Regions from separate parts of the Homo sapiens genome. Here all the other regions are linked to region 1. Evidence: promoter capture Hi-C in human tissues and cell types (Jung and others, 2019). All regions are on one chromosome and are shown on one strand. Each heading gives the region's core, a stretch centred on a gene start or on the middle of the fragment in contact. The rest is flanking DNA. Distances are from core to core; before and after follow the strand shown. Region 1 holds the start of KCNH3 (potassium voltage-gated channel subfamily H member 3). Region 2 overlaps SPATS2 (spermatogenesis associated serine rich 2). Region 3 overlaps SPATS2 (spermatogenesis associated serine rich 2). Region 4 has its middle 3.6 kb from the start of FAM186B.

Evidence for each region. Contacts are between HindIII fragments. The study calls those that stand out against the background at their distance.
Region 2: a fragment that was not itself captured here is called in contact with the fragment with the promoter of KCNH3 in region 1 in 2 of the 25 tissues and cell types used here (lymphoblastoid cells and psoas muscle).
Region 3: a fragment that was not itself captured here is called in contact with the fragment with the promoter of KCNH3 in region 1 in 2 of the 25 tissues and cell types used here (adrenal gland and mesenchymal stem cells).
Region 4: a contact is called between a fragment that was not itself captured here and the fragment with the promoter of KCNH3 in region 1, in 3 of the 25 tissues and cell types used here (aorta, dorsolateral prefrontal cortex and mesenchymal stem cells).

What each region holds. Positions count from the first base shown.
Region 1 is chr12:49,537,506-49,540,816 of GRCh38, forward strand. It overlaps KCNH3 (potassium voltage-gated channel subfamily H member 3), which reads left to right and starts at 1,525. Exons shown (of 15, transcript NM_012284.3): 1 at 1,525-1,987. The coding sequence starts at 1,912. RefSeq lists silencers at 486-605, 1,336-1,515 and enhancers at 833-1,644, 1,645-2,454, 3,099-3,148. The HindIII fragment of the contact is 20,416 bases long and covers 1-3,311 here.
Region 2 is chr12:49,430,692-49,434,002 of GRCh38, forward strand. All of the region lies in intron 2 of SPATS2 (spermatogenesis associated serine rich 2), which reads left to right. Among named protein-coding and RNA genes, the nearest start is that of SPATS2, 65 kb to the left of the region's middle. The HindIII fragment of the contact is 7,181 bases long and covers 1-3,311 here.
Region 3 is chr12:49,461,179-49,464,489 of GRCh38, forward strand. All of the region lies in intron 3 of SPATS2 (spermatogenesis associated serine rich 2), which reads left to right. Among named protein-coding and RNA genes, the nearest start is that of KCNH3, 76 kb to the right of the region's middle. The HindIII fragment of the contact is 4,568 bases long and covers 1-3,311 here.
Region 4 is chr12:49,607,558-49,610,868 of GRCh38, forward strand. It overlaps a transcript of FAM186B not described here. Among named protein-coding and RNA genes, the nearest start is that of FAM186B, 3.6 kb to the left of the region's middle. The HindIII fragment of the contact is 4,316 bases long and covers 1-3,311 here.

The DNA of each region.
Region 1 (3,311 bases), core at 275-2,774:
AGTGAACTGACTCCTAAAATGTCCTTCTTTTTAGTAGACAGCTGGACCGCCGCCTGGAGAGGAAGCCTTGAACGGCTGGGGGAGGGGATTACTTTACAGCCAGGATCCAGCCAAGGCTGGGGATGAGATGGGAGTAGGATCTCCCGACTCCTTAGGGTCACTCCTCAGGGTCACTCCTCGTCCTGGGGACCAGATTCCAGGCTTCACAGGACCGGAGAAGGAGGAGCGCGTCCTCCCTTCCCAAAGCGCCAGCTCATTTAGATACAGGTGCCTGGGGCTTTGGCTCTCGTCGCTGATGAGGGGTAGCATCTTTCTGATGCTGGTGACTGTGAGTGCGTCTCGAGGGATGGGGGTGCTGAGCCTACCGCTTCGCTCGTTAGGGAACAAATTGCTGTTTTGGCCCCGGCGGCTCCTCTGGGCGCGGGCGGCAGCCGCGCTCGCTGGCAAATCGTGGGAGGGAGGAGGAGCGGCGCTGGCAGGCAAGTCCGGGGGACCGTCGCAGCGCGGGAGGCCAAGAAAAGACGGCCGCCCCGGGCCCGGCTCCGCCCCGCCGGGAAGGGGCTCCCTGCAGCCGCCCCAGGGCAGCACCCCGCGCGGCGCCGCGCGGAGCTCTCCAGGACGAGCTGCGTGAGGCGCGGGGCTCGGCCTTCCTCGCTCTCCTGGTGCCAGGACCCGCACGCACAAGGTTCGGAAGTTTTTTCGCAGTGTCTGACCCCTGCCGGTCCCCTGTATTTACCACCTGACCCTCTAGCGCGCTTAGGAGAGGCAAGAGGTGACAAATGCCAGAGGGAAATGGAGGGGCAGGACAAGGGGTCTGGCGCTCCCCTCCCCACCACACACCCTTTCCGCCCACGGGGTCACACGGAGGACGTCTGACCCTTACTCCTAGGGCTACCCACCCTCTGGTTTCCAGGCAGCTCCTGCTTGCGGAGACACCTCATAGGAGCAGCTGGATCCATTTTCCAGAGCGTCAAGTTGAGGATGAGAAAGTCTCGAGGGCCGGGCAGCTGTGCGCGCAGAACCCCCGCCCCATCTGCTTTTAGATTTCCCGGGTGCGGCTGGAGCCCCTCTAGAGCGCCGGCCTCCGCTGGCCGCAGGGCCTTCACCTGCGCCTGTCGCCCTGTCCCCTTGCCCACTGCATTTTCCTCGGGGAGAGCATCTTCCACAGCATGCGTCCCCTGCCCCCCACGCCCCGAGCCCCCCTCCCATTCCGCCGGGGGAGGAGAGGCTGCTAGGAGGCTCTCGGAGAGCCCCCGGGCTGCAGAGAAAGACGCCTCCCCTCTGCGGCTGAGGCCGAGTGAGCCAAAGGGGGCCGGCCGCTCGCCAGTGGTTCTCCGAGGTACGGGCGGGGAGGCCCGCGGGGTGGGATCAGGGCGGCCGCCACCTCCCCGCCCCCGCCGAGGTCCCGAAGGGAGGGGAGCCCTCCGCGGGAGGCCTGTCCCTTTAAGGAGGCGGCCCTGGCTGGGTGTGCCCCGTCTCCATGGTTACCCCGGTGCAGGCGGCGGGCGCGGGAGGGAGGGAGGGAGGCTGCAGCTTCTCCCCGACAGACGGAGGGAGCTGCCGAGAGCCGGCGCCGAGCGAAGCCGAGCGGAAGCCCACCCGCAGCCGACACGCGAGCCGCTGCCGCGGCGGGAGGTGCTGAGAGCGCGGCGGCCGCGGGGCCTGGAGCCCGGGATTTGTGGGCGGCGAGGGCGCGAGGGGCCGCGCGCCATGCTCCGGGCCCCGACGGCGCGGACGCCCCCTCGCGCGCCAGCGTCCGGCGCGACCCCGGATCCCGGTCTGCGCATTGCCCCCCGACGGCTGCGCTAGGGAGCGCGGGGCCCGGCGGGGGGCGGCCGAGCTGGGCGCCCTCCCCCGGCGCGGAGTCCCCGCACCCCGGAGGGATGGGGCGGGCAGCCGCGGGCGCCTAAGATGCCGGCCATGCGGGGCCTCCTGGCGCCGCAGAACACCTTCCTGGACACCATCGCTACGCGCTTCGACGGCACGCGTGAGTCCGACCCTCGCCCACTTGCACCCGGGCCGCCGGACCCTCGCCAGGGCTCCCGCCTTCCCCGAACCCCCAGCAGCCCAGCTTGGCGCCAGCCTATTCTCACCCTCTCCTCCCTACCCGCCCCTCTTGAGGCTGGGGCCATCGTCTCCTGCTAGGCGCTGTTTCCCCGAAGGTTCGAAGGTTCGGGGTCAACACTGCTTCAGGCGAGGCAACAGGGCCAGAAGTCCCTGGGTGTGGGTCCTGGGATGCTCTCTGTTAGCCGGGTCTCGAACCCGAACCTAGTCAGTCTGACCCATCCCACCCCTGCGTCTGGCGCTGTCGCAGCAACTACCCTCGGACTGGTGGGGTAAGGCGAGGCGGGTGAACAGTGCTCAGGGACAGCTGAGAGGGCTCAAAACACAGATTTAGAAAAGAGATTTGCAAACGGAGATAAGAGTAGGCGGCACTCGGGAGAGCACCGTGTGTCCAAGCCCCGTGTCTCATAGCCTGAACCCCCTAGACTTGGGGAGGCCATCTAGCCCCAAGAAGATGGTTTGGGGACTCCCATCAGGACTGGGGAAGTTTGGAGAAGGCGCCCCGAGCTCTGGATCCCCGGTTCTGGGGGCTCTGAGCACAGGGGAAGTGATGAAAGCCCCTCCCTCCTCCTCTCCCTCACATCCCCCGTGGGGCTTCCCAGCTCTCTGCCTAGGTCCTCCTTGGTCTCCGGTTCCTGATAGGGGGTGGGAGCCCAGCCCTGCGCTCTCCCCACTCCGGGCTCCTCCATCTGCTTTGCCAGTGTGCTTGGCTCCTGCAGCCTGCTGATTCAGTGCCCCCCACTCCCCAATACATTCCTGGCTCCTGGCTCCCGTGCTCAGTCACCATTCTTACACCCCCATTCTTGATCACATTCACTAATTCCTGAGCCAGGTCAGGCAGCTAGGGCTAAAACACAGACAGCAGGATGTATGGTGGTCTGGGGTTGCCTCCAGTCTAGGTGTGTCTCAGTGGGAGAAGCCAGACAGCCAACCTGGGTACCTGGCTAGTGGGTGAGCCTGGCAGAAGTAGAGGTGGGGCTGAGGCTGGCCCAGAGCTGGCAGGGCAGTCCTCATTAGGGATTCCCCAATCCCAGCCCTTACCCCACATTGCTCAGGACACCCTCCAGAAGGCACAGTGCCCGCACAGCGCTTCATTCACCGACCTCAGTTCACATGTGCTGATCCTTGAATGTACTCACACCTGCTGCAGGGCACTGACAAACAGGTGACACACACTGATTGCTATTCATAAACAGCCCTGCCTTAACACACGCAGGATTCCTGGGGTTTGGAAAACCCACTCTTTG
Region 2 (3,311 bases), core at 388-2,887, 110 kb before region 1:
AAGGGTCTTATTTATTTTTACTTTTTTGAAATAGAATCTCTCTCTGTCACCCAGGCTGGAGTGCAGTGGCACCATATGGGCTCATTTTAGCCTCCACCTCCTGGGTTCAAGCAATTCTCCTGCCTCAGCTCCTGAGTAGCTGGGACTACAGGCATGTGCCACCACACCTGGCTAATTTTTGTATTTTTAGTAGTGATGGAGTTTCACCATGTTGGCCGGGCTAATCTCGAACTCCTGACCTCAAATGATCCACCCGCCTCAGTGGGATTACAGGCATGAGCCACTGTGCCCAGCTGGGGTCTTTTTAAAAAGGGTGCGCTATTAATTTTTTTGAACAGATAAGATGTTTATATTATTCCAATGTCAAAATATAAAAAGGTAGACTGAAAAGTCTTTCTTACCCTAGTTTCCTATCTTTTCAGTTTCCATTCTTCAAGAGATCATCACTGCTACTAGTTTTTTGTCTATCCTTCCAGGTATACAGTTTTTATATATGTGCAAACCAGTGCAAATACATTACTTTCTCCATCATATTCACTTAATAAATATATAAAGAACTTTTTTTTTTTCTTTTTAAGGTGGAGCCTCGCTCTGTCGCCCAGGCTGGAGTGCAGTGGCGCGATCTTGGCTCACTGCAACCTCCGTCTTCTGGGTTCAAGTGATTCTCCTGCCCTGGCCTCCTGAGTAGCTGGGACTACAGGCACGCGCCACCACGCCCAGCTAATCTTTTGCTTTTTTAGTAGAGACGGGGTTTCACCGTGTTGGTCAGGCTGGTCTTGAACTCCCAACCTTGTGATCTGCCCGCCTCGGCTTCCCAAAGTGCTGGGAATTCAGGCATGAGCCACCGCACCGGGCCCAAAGAACTTTTCTCAAAAACATTTGCACAGTATTCTCATTATGTGGACAGATTACAATTAATTAAACCAGTGTCCTATTAATTGACAATTAGTTTGAATATTTTGCTCTTATAAATAATGTTGCATTGGATAACCTTGAATACATAGGTTTATACATTTGCAAACAGCCTTGCAAGGTAAATTCCTAGAAATTGTCTTGCTAGGGTGGGTGTGATAGCTCATGTTTGTAATCCCAGCACTTTGGGAGGCCGAGGCAGGAGGATCACTTGAGCTCAGCAGTTTGAGACCAGCATGAGCAACATATGAAACCCTGTGTTTACAAAAAATACAAGAATTAGCTAGGTGTGGTAGTGTGCACCTGTAGTCCCAGCTACTCGGGAGGATCGTTTGAACCTGGGAGGTTGAGGGTACAGTGAGCCTGGGCAACAAAACAAGACCTTGTCAAAAAAAACAAATTGTCTTCCTGGGTCAAATAATATATACATTTTTAATTTTGACAGCTACTGCTTAGTTGTCTTCCAAAGATACTGTATAAATTTACATTCTCACTTAGATGTGAGGGGCCTGTTTGTCCACACCTCAGTACCTGTGTGTTTTGTCATCATTTTGGATTTTTGCAAAAATGATGATAAAACACACAGGTGGCTGGGCGTGCTGGCTTATGCCTGTAATCCCAGCACTTGGGGAGGGTGAGGCAGGTGGATCATGGGTTCAGGAGTTCGAGACCAGCCTGGCCAACATAGTGAAACCCTGTCTCTACTAAAAATACAAAAATTAGCTGGGTGTGGTGGCAGGCGCCTGTAGTCCCAGCTACTGGGGACGCTGAGGCAGAAGAGTCACTTGAACCCAGGAGGCGGAGGTTTCAGTGAGCCAAGATAGCACCACTGCACTCCAGCCTGGGCGACAGAGTGAGACTCCGTCTCAAAATATATATACATATGTAAATGAAAGTTCAGGAGCGTTAAGTATATTCACATTGTTGTATAACAGATCGCCCAAAGTTTTTTTATCTTTGCAAAACTGAAATTCCATACCCATTAAATAACAACCCAGCCCCTGGCCCACCATTCTACTTTCTGTTTCTATGAGTTTGACTACTTTACCTCATATAAGTGGAATCATACAGTTTTTGTCTTTTTGCAACTGGCTTGTTTCAATTAGTGCATTGTCCTCAAGGTTCCTCCATGTTGTAGCATGTGACAGGATTTCCTTTTTTTTAAAGGCTGAATAATATTCTCTTGTATGTATATACCACATTTTATCTATTCATCCTTTGATAGACACCGGTTGCTTTCACCTCTTTTCTGAATAATGCTACCATGAACATGAGTACACAAATATCTCTTTGATATTCAGCTTTGAGATGTTTTGAATACGTATCCAGAGTTGGGAGTCCTGGATCATGTGGTAGTTCTAATTTTAATTTTTTGGGAACCTTTATACTGTTTTCCATAGTGGCCATTACCATTTTACATTCTTGCCAGCAGTACACAAGGGTTCCAATTTTTCCACATCTTTACTAATACTTATTTTATTTTCTGTTTTTGTTTTTACTTTGTTTTATTTTGGGTAGCAGCCATCCTAGTGGGTTCAAGGTGTTAACTCATTGTGTCTTGTTTTGTTTTGTTTTGTTTGAGACGGAGTCTCTCTGTCACACAGGCTGGAGTGCAGTTGCGTGATCTCAGCTCACTGCAACCTCCGCCTCCCAGGTTCAAGCGATTCTCCTGCTTCAGGCTCCCGAGTAGCTGGGACTACAGGTGTGCACCACCATGCCTGGCTAATTTTTGTATTTTTAGTAGAGACAGGGTTTCACCATGTTGGCCAGGCTGGTCTCGAACTCCTGACCTCAAGTGATCTGCCGACCTCGGCCTCCCAAAGTGCTGGGATTACAGGCGTAAGCCATTTCAACCTGACCCTGGTTTTGTTTTGCTTTTTTAAGAGCACATGAGCTCCTGATCATTGTGGTTTTGATTTGCATTTCTCTAATAATGAGTGATTGAGCATCTTTTCACGTGTTTGGTGACCATTTATTTATCTTCTCTGGAGAAATGCCTGTTTAACTCCTTTGCCTATTGTACAGTTGGGTTTTTGTTGTTGTTGTTGTTGTTGTGGATTTGCAGGAGTTCTTCATAAATTCTGGATATTAACCCTTTATAATAGATATATGACTTGCAAGTATTTTCTGCCATTTCATTGGTTGCCTTTTTACTTCATTGATTGCTTAGAAGTTTTAAGTTTAATGTAATCCCATTTGTCTATTACTGCTTTTTTGCGTGCACTTTTGCTGTCATATCTAAGAAATTGCCAAATCCTGCCTCATGAAGCTTTCCCCTTGTTTTCTTCTAGGAGTTTCATAGTTTTAGGTCTTACATTTGGTTCCTTATTTCTTTTTGAGTTAATTTTTGTGTATGGTGTAAGGTAACGGTCCAGCTTCATTCTTTTGCATGTAGATAT
Region 3 (3,311 bases), core at 502-3,001, 76 kb before region 1:
ATTACTAGTCTGGGAATTAATTCATATAACAATAGCTTTTCTACTCACACAAACTTAGCAAATTGTAATATGCTTAACAATCTTGAAGATGCATTTTTGAATACTGAACATATGTTAGGGAGATGTGTTAAGAGGGCTAGCTTGCTGCAGGATATTCTATGTTGTTTGAGTTGGCATTTTTCTAGAGAAAGGCAGTGGAGCAAGAGTAAATGTTTCTGGGTTTTGTTTCCTTCTTTAGCTTTCCTTCCGGGAATGTTCTTCTAGCTTCTTATCTAAAGTGAAATACAAGGTGCAAAGAGTCAGGAAATAGAAGGGTAGTTATAATGGAGGGAAGGACAACAAAGACTTTGTAAAACCTTTTTCTACTTTTCTAGAATAGCTGCAAAAATTTCAAGGGACAAAGTGAACAACAGCACTAGAACTATTGTACATAATTGGAATATATTGATTAAAAGAATGATCATAGATATCTTGGCGTTTTCCCCTCATTCAATTTAATTTCCAGTTCAAAGTTAATGTTCTTTAATTCAAAGCAAAGCTATTCATAGATCCAGGTCTCACATGTTAAATATGAAGAAAATTCTTTTAAACCTAATTTTGACTTGATAATTCAAAAACCTTATAAGAAAGTAAATAAACCAGATTTGTAGTTGTAGCTTCATTGTGTAGTAAATCTATAGGAAGAATCTGAGCTCTAAGGAATGCTTAGATTACTAAAGCTGAACTGTTCTGTGGAATGAAATTTACCAACGGAAAAGTTTTTTTTAATAACCCAAGTTTGTTTTTTCTTAGTTGTTATAATTCAGTTTGTTTTTTCCCAGTTATGCTTGAAACATTGAGCATCTGTTTTCACCCTGCAAATGAGAAATACTATAGTAAAAATAGGGTTCTGGAAAAGTTGAGCATTTAATTTTTCCAAAAAAAAAGTTAACTTCAGCAAATTACTTTGACCTTTTTAAAACTAGAGAGTCTTTATTTCATGTCTGTGTTTTGCCAGAGCTGTAGAAAAAAAGTATCATTGTGAAGCAGGATATTTCCCTGGCCCCTTTGCAGGAGTCTCTCCTTTACTCAGCCTGCCTCTCTCAACTCCTCACAGGAAGGAGAGCGCGAGTGAACAAGGAAGGAACTGGAGGGCATGAGTGCTGGAACCGGCTGGCTGCTTCAGTACCAGCAGGGGTGAACTCTGTGTGGGCCCCGTGGCAGCATCCAGGCTGTGGGGTGCCTGTGACCCCCGAAGCTCCAGAGGGCATGTTACAGTGCTCTTCTGGCTCTGCCATTTGTGGACGGCTTAAGTGTTAACAGCTCAGTGGGCCCTTTCCCCCCGTGTGTGGGGTGGCTGCCCTCTGCCAGCAAGGGCAAAGGGCCAGTGTGACAGCCTTTTGTATCTGCACTCGTGGCTCCTGAGCTCTTGTCTGGTGTCCAGGAAAAATGAGGTCACACGAATGAATTGAAGGATGGTAAATGCGGGAGATTTTATTGCTGATGAAAGTGGCTTTTAGCAGGAAGGGGAGCTGAAAAGGGGTTGGTGGGGTGCGGGTAGATAATCTTTCCCTGAAGTCCAGCTGTCTCCAGCTAGTTTTTTCTCCAAAGTTACACCATCAAGCTGTCCCTCTAAAGTCAACCCACTTCTCTCCGACATCCTGACGTCCAGCTAGTTCTCCTCTCTGCCAGCTGAGTCTGGGGTCTTTATAGGCACAGAATGGGGCAGGGTGGGGCCATGGGTGGTTTAGGAAAAGGCAACAAACAGGAAAACAGAGATATAAGTTCTCACATTGGGCCAAGGTTTCAGGCATTTTGGCTTGAGGGTGGCGTTTTAACCGGTGACCCACCCTTTTCTGCCTAGAATTTCTCTGCCTCCTGTCCCCATCAGTTGCTTTTTTCTAATTACTATAAAATGAATTTAAATATTAACTATAAAAGAATTTAAATTTTAGACTACAACATAGGCCGGGTCTGGTGGCTCACGCCTATAATCCCAGCACTTTGGGAGGCCGAGGTGGGTGGGTCACAAGGTCAGGAGATTGAGACCATGCTGGCTAACACAGTGAAACCCCGTCTCTACTAAAAATACAAAAAAAAAAAAAATTAGCCGGGCGTGGTGGCGGGTGCCTGTAGTCCCAGCTACTCAGGAGGCTGAGGCAGGAGAATGGTGTGAACCCAGGAGGCGGAGCTTGCAGTGAGCAGAGATCATGCCACTGCACTCCAGCCTGGGCAACAGAGAGAGACTCTGTCTCAAAAAAAAAAAAAAAAAAAATAGACTACAACATAGACACTAAGTGCTTACCAGTTTTGGTTGAACTTAGCCTAGATTTACACTTAGTTGGAAACAAAGTAAAGCTTATGTGTTGTTGGGACTTTCTCTGAAACAAATCTATGCATGTAATTCATTTGCATGTCTGATATTTGGTCCCATGACATATAAAATATTACAACATTTCATTTATTCATTTATACGTTTAAAGTGTCATTGCTTTGGGTTTTAGTAGTCTAATCTGTAAATACACTGACTTTATCAACTTGGTTATACTACATTAAAAAGAAGGGTCTATGGTAGTCATTGTTCTTAGTGGTATTTCATTTACAGGCTCTCATTTTGTAATGAGTTATGTTTTTATTCAGCAATAGACCATGTTTTCATATTTTCCTTTTGTCAGTAATACTTGTAAATTCCTTATTTAATGAAATACTTAGTGGAGTTAAACTTGAACAGCTTAAATTAAATTAAGTCAGTTTCAGTTAAAACTATTGATTACTCCAAGCCTATTAGCCAATATCTAGCAGAAGTCAGAGCTGTGCTTCTTAGAGTGTGGGCTGTAGACCCTATTCCTGTCTGTGAACTGGAGAAGTATATAGAAATGAAGAGTGTTTAGGAACTCTTTGATAGTGATTTGACAGTGTGGCAACATCTAAGCCCTTTTAAACACAGTTTTATTGAGGTATAATTTAAATACCTTAAAATTTGCCCAAGTGTATAATTTGATTATTTTTAGTAAATTTATGGAGTTGTGCACCATCACCAAAATCTTGTTTTAAAACACTTTCCGACTGGGTGTGGTAGCTAAAGCCTATAATCTCAGCACTTAGGGAGGCTGAGGCAGGAGAATGGCTTGAAGCCAGGAGTTCAAAATCAGCCTGGACAACATAGTAAGACTCTGTCTTAGCCAGGTGTGGTGGCTCACGCCTGTAATCCCAGCACTTTGGGAGGACAAGGTGGGCAGATCATCTGAGGTTGGGAGTTCGAGACTAGCCTAACCAACATGGAGAAACCCTGTCTCTGCTTAAAAAAAAAAAAAAAAAAATTAGCTGGGTGT
Region 4 (3,311 bases), core at 416-2,915, 70 kb after region 1:
TCCAGCCCCAGATAGTTTAATTGGTGAGTTCTGCCAAACATTTAAGAAAAAAAAGATACGGTTCTATAAAAACTCTTTCAAAAAATTGAATAGTAAAGAACACTTCTCAAATCATTTTATGAGGTTAGCATTATTTTTATTTTATTTTTTAATTTTTTCTGAGACAGAGTCTTACTCTGTTGCCCAGGCCAGAGTGCAGTGGCGTGATCTCGGCTCACTGCAACCTCCACCTCCTGGGTTCAAGTGATTCTCCCACCTCAGCCTCCCTAGCAGCTGAGACTACAGGTGCGTGCCACCACGCGCAGCTAATTTTTGTATTTTTAGTAGAGATGGGGTTTCACCATGTTGGTCAGGCTGCTCTCAAACTCCTGACCCCAGGTGATCCACCCACCTTGGCCTCCCAAAGTGCTGGGATTACAGGCATCAGCCACCGCACCCAGCTGAGGTTAGCATTATCTTGGTACCAAAACCAGAAAAACATGACAAGAAAAGAAAAAAAAGTACTACAGACTAATATTGCTCACAAATATAGACATAAAAGAAAATGAATTGATTGGGAGGCTGAAACAAGAGGATTGCTTGACTGCAGGAGCTGAAGTCCAGCCTGGGCAACTTAGCAAGACTTCATACCTTAAAAAAAAAAAAAAAGTTGGCCGGGTGCGGTGGCTCATGCCTGTAATCCCAGCACTTTGGGAGCCTGAGGCGGGTGGATCACTTGAGGTCAGGAGTTCAAGATGAGCCTGGCCAACATGGTGAAACCTTGTCTCTACTAAAAACATAAAAATTAGCTGGGTGTGGTGGTGTGCACCTGTAATCCCAGCTACTCTGGAAGCTGAGGCAGGAGAATTGCTTGAACCCAGGAGTCCTGGGTTGCAGTGAGCTGAGATCATATCACTGTACTCCAGCCTGAGTGACAGAGCAAGACTCCGTCTCCAAAAAAAAAAAAAAAACCAAAAACCTTTTTTTTCCCCAAGATGGCAGATTTGGGGCTGTTAGTGTGCCTCAGTCACTTGGAAATTGCAAGGTAGTGCATAAAGATCAACTCTGTGGGCTTTAATTCAAGAAAGAAAATGGGAATCCAACAGAATCATGAAGAACACCCTAGGTCTCAGGGAGGAAAACAAAGGCAAACAGCCCCCGTGATGGCATTTGGCTCATAAAAGTGAGTGAAGCCCCAGTACATGAGAGAGGCAGACAGGCTCTTTCCATCCAGTGGAAAGGGCACTTTGGGAAAGTGCCCTTTCCACTGGAGATACAAGCAACAGAGGCCAAGGGAGAGCACTTTGTTTCTCCCAAGTCCTGGAGGTAACTTGAGAAGATATTTGGAGACACTGAGAAGGAAAGACACTGGGAAAAGCTGTAGGCATTTCCCAGGCCCAGGATGCCACTTTTAATCCAGGCATACAAAGTTAGTCATTCTTTGGCGACACAGTAGCGTGGCCACACAGGCATTTTAGTCTTGGGCCAGAGATTGGAGTGCCTGCTCTCGAGGTGCATAGAGGTTTCTACAGCCAGAATTGTAGAAAGCACCTTGCAGTAGGTGCTGGCAATGTGCTCTTCCCTGTCACAGGACTGGGGTGGGAAAGGGACTGCTACAGCTGTGGTTTCTCCTAGGCAACAAGATGCAACCAGGGTCAGCTTGGTGACCTGTGGACTGGTCTGAGTGAGTTATTGCTTGGTATGCTAGACTGTTCTCCTGAGATCATGGTGCAGTGGGGCCCTCTCAGCTCAACACTCAGGGAGATCTCCAGGCATTTGGAGCACCCACTCACCCAGATCAGCAGCCTGAGCTGCCCTATCCTTCCTGTGCAGACACTCTAGTGAAGTGGGGCTCACTCTGCTCCACACCCAGGCAGATCTTCAGGAATTTGGAGCACCTGCTTGCCTGCATTTGCAGTCTGAGTTGGCACACCCTTCCTGTATAGAGACCATGGTGAAGAGGCACCCTATCCACCCCATGCCCAGACAGATCTCTAGGCAGTCGGAGCATCCGTTCACATGAATTAGCAGCCTGCCACCCCACCCTCCCTGTGTAGAGATTGTGGTGCAGCAGTGCCCTCTGCATTCCACACTCAGACACCTGGAGCATGCACTCTCCTGGATTAGGAGTTTAGGCCACCCTGGTTCCTTGTGCATAGAACTTGGGGCCAAGGAGGTTTCCCAACTCAACAACTAGCAACACCTCTGGGCACTGGGTGGCAGCCCACTGGATTCTCCCTTGGTGTTGGTGCTGTGCCTGCCATTGAGGGACCTGTAGACAGGCCTGCTCTGGTCCAGCCCCACTCATCTTACCTCCTGGGACTGAGCAGGGAGCTCAAGCCACTGTGCATTCCATGGATCAGCCCATTGCCTGAGGCAACAGAGAGCTTCTGCCAGTAAACAAGGATCAAGAATATACCCAGCCACGCTGGCCACAGCTGGCTCTTACTTATAAGTGCCATCTACTGGCCTGTACATCAAACCACACAACCCAATATAAAATCTGCTGATAGTATACAAGGCTATAGAAGCAAAGCCAAAAGACCCAATCTAATATTCTCTACAGTCATTACCCCCTAGGCAGGGGAGAGGGAAAGGGAAGGTGGAAAAAAAAAAAAAACCGATATTATAGGGAAAGAAATAAAAAGAAAAAAATTCTGTCCCCCCACACACAAATTAGAATTGCCAGCATCTCCAGATGAGAAAGAACCAAAGCAAGAATTCTGGCACCATGAAAAATCTGAATGTAGTGACACCACCAAAGGATCGCACTAGATGTCTAGTCCTTAACCAAAATTGAAACTCAGAAATGACAGATAAAGAATTCAAAGCATGGATTGCTAGGAAACTCAACAAGATCCAAGACAAGGTTGAACATCAACCTAAAGAAACTTCTAAAGCAATCCACAAAATGAAGGAATAGATAAACATCTTGAAAATAAATCAGTCAGAGCTTCTGGAATTGAAAAACAGGCTGGGCGTGGTGGCTCACGCCTGTAATCCCAGCACTTTGGGAGGCCGAGGCGGGCGGATCATGAGGTCAGGAGACTGAGACCATCCTGGCTAACATGGTGAAACCCCGTCTCTACTAAAAATACAAAAAACTAGCCGGACACGGTCGTGGGCGCCTGTAGTCCCAGCTACTCAGGAGGCTGAGGCAGGAGAGTGGCGTGAACGCGGGAGGCAGAGCTTGCAGTGAGCCAAGATTGCGCCACTGCACTCCAGCCTGGGCGACAGAGCAAGACTCCATCTCAAAAAAAAAAAAAAAAAGAAAAACTCACTTAAAGAATTTCAAAATACAATTGAAAGCTTTATCAATGACTGGACCATGA